2 separate regions of the Homo sapiens genome follow, and region 1 is linked to region 2. The links are contacts of gene promoters, found by promoter capture Hi-C in blood cells and fetal thymus (Javierre and others, 2016). All regions are on one chromosome and are shown on one strand. Each heading gives the region's core, a stretch centred on a gene start or on the middle of the fragment in contact. The rest is flanking DNA. Distances are from core to core; before and after follow the strand shown. Region 1 has its middle 11 kb from the start of LINC00997. Region 2 holds the start of BMPER (BMP binding endothelial regulator).

Region 1 (2,700 bases), core at 25-2,524, 1.1 Mb after region 2:
GAGGTTACATGGCATGTTATAATGCAACAGATTAAGTGCAGAGGGAGATTAAAATACTCTTTTTTTTGCTAACTACATATTTGTGAGGACTGATTTTCCTTATATATTTCCATCAAAACAGCATATTGCAACAGATTGAATGCAGAAGATATGAAAATCTGTCTTCTATTAAGTCAAACTTAAAGAGATTTGCATAAAGTTAAAACAATGTCACTTTTCTCACTAAATTTTTGTTGAAAATAGTTATTTTCATATAAAAGATATTTCTGTTAATATAGTGAGTTTATTATTGTTATTTGTAAATGATTTATAAACAAATATTTTTTCATTTTAAAGTTTTAACATGAATGGATTATAAATATCCATGTAAATATCAATGCATACAATACACTTAAGCAATCATAAAGGACTTGTTTGGTCTTTTTGAGGCCAAAATATTTAAGAATGGCTGCTCTAGAGTGCTTTGATAAGGGATCACATCAGCATGTTGGTATAGCCCTCAAAACACCTCTGCAGAGGTGTCCTTCCTTGTTCCAAGACATCACATCAACACATGGCCATATTTCCCAACTTGGCTCTCATTTGGACATTTATATGCATACATAACCACATTAGATTAAAGTCTATCTTTATGTGAAAAAAATGCATTTAATCTCTAGTGGAAAGAGGAAGAATTAGAGATGTCTTGAGTTTACCAGCAGATATCTAGATGGTTAGAAGAAGTGATAAAGTTGGACTCTTAGGAGGTAACATTCGTATTCCAGTTGGACCAGGGGAAAACATTTAGATGTAAGCAAAGGAGGCCTACACAGTTCCTGGCCATGAGGTACGTGAGCTCTGACCCCCTGGGATGCTCCTAATTACCATCCCATTGAAGAGTTGCACCAGAGCCACCTGGATAAATCACCTGGGTGAGTTGCTGTAAATACAGATTTCCATGTTCTACTCAGAACCCAGTAAGTCAGAATCGAGGTTGGGGGTTCAGAAATCTGGATAAAAAATAAATTCCTTGAGTGATTCATGATGCAGCCAGGCTTGAGAACATTGGATTGGCCTCCTTAAAGTCTGTCAGATAGTTATGATGATGTTTGAGTTACACTGTTTGCCACAAATAGCTCTTCCAGTTGCCTACCATGGGCCCAAAGTCCCAAGCTTTGGTGATGAGTTCTTTGGGGTTAGAGCAGCAATATCTCCAGTGTTCCCTATATAGAGGATGAATCTTCTCCTGAGGAATGCTGTGTTCAGCTGTGCTCTGGGGCTAACATCACCGCATAGTGGGGTATTATGCACTTGAGATCTCCACCCTGGGGGACAAGGAAGGGCAGAAAGAATGAAAACAAGCAGGAGGAGACTCTTTGGATGAATATTGAAGTGGGAAACCAGGAGCAAAAGCTTAAGGATTCCAGGTCCCCTTGGCAGGCAAGAAGAGAACAGAAGATGGATATTGATTTCTTCTGAACTGACTCACAATGCTCTGTGGAGGAGCCAAGTCGTTTCTGCAAACTTTGAAAAATGTTGGCATCAGTGTTCCTGCTATCACTGGATGCTAGTCATAGATGATGGCTGTGAACACAGAGAAGGATCTTTCAGCTGTCTCTGCTGTTTTCTGTATGTAACCGAGACCCAGTTGATCACCTCCCTGTTTCTAGTCTGGCTCCCTTCTCTGCACTGCTTCCAAAATAACCTGAACACCCTTGAACCTGCCAGCTAGAGCAAAAAAGAGACTCTGCCAGCCCCTCTCTGTACATCTCCTCCCTCTCCCCACAAAGATATTTCAATCTGGACTCTTACAAAAAGTGATTTCCTGCTTTGCTTTAGAGTTTTATCACTGATATGGTTTGGCTCTGTGTCCCCACCCAAATCTCATCTTGTAGCTCCCATAATTCCCACGTGTTGTGGAAGGGACCCAGTGGGAGATGACTGAATCATGGGGATGGGTCTTTCCTGTACTGTTCTTGTGATAGTGAATGGGTCTCACAAGATCTGATGGTTTTAAAAATGGGAGTTTCTCTGCACAAGGTTGCTCTTTGACTGCTGCCATCCATGTAAGATGTGACTTGCTCCTCCTTGCCTTCTGCCATGATTGTGAAGCCTCCCCAGCCATGTGGAACTGTAAGTCCAATAAACCTCTTTCTTTTGTAAATTGCCCAGTCTTGGGTATGTCTTTATCAGCAGTGTGAAAAATGGACTAATACAATTACCTATGTGTGCATTGCCAAATATGATAATTTAATTTTGGCTAGTTTTGAATTTCATATAAATGAGATCATATGATATCTTTAATGTCTCTGTCTTTGACCTTTATATTATGTTTTTAGAAGTTTTTTTATGTTGCTGCAAGCATATGCAGTTTCTTCATTTTTTTTTGTTGCTGTAAAGTATTCCATTGTATGAAATATACCATAGTTTATTTATCTATTCTACTGCTAATGGGCATTTGTTTTGCCTCCAATTTGAGGCTCTTATAATTAGTGCTATTAAGAATATTTTTTCATATCTATTATGGTGTATATCAGTCTGATAGTCTTTGATTATTAACTGGGGCATTTAATCTCTTTGCACTTATAATTACTAATAAGTTTGGATAAAAAAACCACCATCTTCCTATGTGTTTTCTGTTTATCCTAGCTGTTTTATGTCCCTGTTTCTCTCTTTTCTTGCTTTCTTTCAAATTGTTTGAGTGACTTGTCACTCAGCTTT
Region 2 (2,700 bases), core at 9-2,508:
TGTTTCATTTAAAGTTAGCTTAGCAGCATGATTTCAACATTTAAAATTTTTACACTAATCCTTTTTGAAACCTCTACCCAAACTTCAGAATTCTTAATGTGGTTTAAATTATTAAATTCACCAAAGCAAAACCTCTGCCCCCAACTCCATTTTCAATAATTTTATTTAAACAGGTTCAAAAAAGAAAAGACTATGATATAGGGATAAATTATCTGTTCTCAGATGGTCTAAGCACAATTCCAAGTATTTCACTGGATTTTTAATAACACTCCTCCTTTATGAAGATATTTCAACTAAGCACACAGCCCCATACGCAAAGAAAAAAATAAAAAATAAAATTTAAAAAAACCCTCAAATTGGGGCAGATTTTAAATTGACCAAAACTCAGAACTGAGTCAATAAACAGGCCTTTCTATGAATCTGTCTCGCATTGTCTTAGGTTTAAATCACTTTTTGAAACGCAATCCCCTTTTCCCTTCTCTTAGAAATTGACTCCATATTTTCTTTTCTGCACCAGGTGTCAGTAAAGTATGTCCTTCAGAATAGCAGCTGAGGTCTTCACCTGCCTGAAAACATATAATTATTATATCCGGCTATTAGTGCCCTTTTTAAATGATAGTTTCTTTAAATTCAAGGTCTTGAGAGCCAGTGCTTTAAAAAGCACTCCTAGCACAGTGGATGTATTGCAACCCCAAAGATGAGAAAGGAAGATGTGCGGAAAACTGCACAAATTTTTTTCCTGAGTTCTACAGAGGGAAAGATTAAAATAAAAGTTGAGGAAAGCATTAAAAATAAATAAAATAATTTCTCAAATTCAAATAGAAGAATGTCTATTATTACTACATTGAAGGCAACAGCCTCTCAGCCCGCAACCTCTTCACCAGCCTTCCCAGCCCTCCCGGGGCTTCGCTTCATCCCCATCGACCAGCGCAGGGCAAGCGCCAAGGTGCGCGCTCCCCACCCTCCCATCCCCGGGGCAAGCCAGCGCCACCTTTCCCAGGTACCAAACCGGCGTCCCGGAGGGCCGGTCCCTCCCGCCCCCTCCCCTACCTGTCAAGAAGGAGGAAGCCAGAGACATGGGGACCCCCGAGCAATTGAGTAGCAGCAAGACGCAGCACGTAATCCCAGGCGAGCGGCGGCAGTAACGCTCAGCCAGAGCCCCGACGCCGGAGAACCAGAGCATCGTCACCTGGAGGGAATCCCTGGCGACTGCAGGTCCCGCGCCGCCGCCTCTGCTCAGCTGCCGCAGCTCACAGTCGAAAAGGGCTCTCAGCCGGCGTGTCGGGAGACCGTCCGCGAAGGAGGGAGGCGGGCGCCCGAGAGCTGGGGGGCGGGGGGGTGTGAGGGAGGGCGGGGGGAGAGACCAAGGTGTGGGGGCGCCCGGGGAGGAGGGGTCCTGCGGCCAGGCTCCTCCGATGCGGCTTTTTTTTTTTTTTTCCTGAGGGAGTTGCTTGCAGTGGCTTAGCAGTCAGCCCCTCAGCGCCGGAGAGGGGGCCAGGAGGAAGGGGTGTTGCGGCAGCCGGAGATAGACTGAGAGGAGCTGCGGCGCTGCCGACTGCGCACTGCCGCTCAGCCGCCGCCCGGGCTGCCGCTACTGTTTCGGGGGCTGTCGCTGTCGCTGCCGCAGCGTCCTCCACTCCCGCACTCCTCACCTCCTGCCAGCCCCGCCGGCTCTCGGCCCTCCCGGAGCGCGCTCGCTCCGCCGCAACAGACGTGGGCTCACCGGGCGCCTCCCGGAACCCGCTGGGGGCGCCCGGGCGCAGGAGGGACTGCGCGATAGCTGCAGCGGGAACTCTCTCGGCCCAGCTTCCAGTTCCCCAGCCCCTCCAGGGAGGCCAGGGCCCCAGGGCGCGGACCAGAGCCGAGAAGGCGCGTCTCCACTGTCCGGGCGAGCGCGGCTCCTCCTCCCTTTCTTGGGGGAGCCCCGGGGATGCCGCAGCACTAGCGCTCAGGCCCGGGTGCCCCAATCCAGCGAGGGAGCAGCAAACGGGACGCAGGGGCGCCCCACCACCCTGCTCGCTCCCGGGTGCCCCACCTTTGGGAAGGAGCGACACACCCGGGGCAGTAGGGCCCCCGCAACTTTTCATGCCCTGCTTTGCTTCCCTCTGGCGGGGGCGCGACAGCGAACTCAGGGGGCTGAGCGGACAGAGGGGCAAGTGGCCTTAGAGATGTGTTCTGTGCTTAGCTGTCTGCGCGTCCTGACACTAGGGATGACCGAAGTTGAAACACACACAAGGTCGATTTAAAAACGTACCGAGGCAAACGCCTTTCGTCCTTAAAAAATGAACAGTCGCTCCGAGACTCCTCCCTTCCAATCTCGGGCGGACCGGGGCGGGGAGGTGGTGTTTGACTAATCATTCATTCACCCGAAAAGAGGGAGGAACCCCCGCCCCACCGCTCATCTCTGGCGGGGGCCGCCGCGCGGCGGCCTCTGCAGCTCGGAGCTCCGTCGCTCTCTCAGCCCGGCTGCGCCCTCTCGCCTCTGCAGCACTGGGTGTCGGGGAGTCAGCTCCTGTGATCCCCCTGCTGAATCGCCGCCTCCTCCCCACGCAGTGGCACCCTCTACTCAAAAGGGGTGCAATCGCAGAGAGATGATTTTTGTAACCAAAGTACGAAGGCGCGAGGTGGGAGTGAGGGACGCTTGGCAAGTGTTGGGACCTGACGATCAGCTAGCTGTCCTTGAGCTCACGGTGGACTACC

Evidence for each region. Contacts are between HindIII fragments. The CHiCAGO score rates a contact against its expected background, and 5 or more counts as called.
Region 1: a contact is called between a fragment that was not itself captured here and the fragment with the promoter of BMPER in region 2, in 4 of 17 cell types (non-activated CD4 T cells, naive B cells, M2 macrophages and 1 more). The highest score is 8.1, in non-activated CD4 T cells.

Annotation. Positions count from the first base shown.
Region 1 is chr7:32,767,863-32,770,562 of GRCh38, reverse strand. No RefSeq gene overlaps it. Among named protein-coding and RNA genes, the nearest start is that of LINC00997, 11 kb to the right of the region's middle. The HindIII fragment of the contact is 240 bases long and covers 1,155-1,394 here.
Region 2 is chr7:33,904,097-33,906,796 of GRCh38, reverse strand. BMPER (BMP binding endothelial regulator) reads right to left here and starts at 1,258. Exons shown (of 15, transcript NM_001365308.1): 1 at 1,051-1,258. The coding sequence starts at 1,183. The HindIII fragment of the contact is 6,002 bases long and covers 1-2,700 here.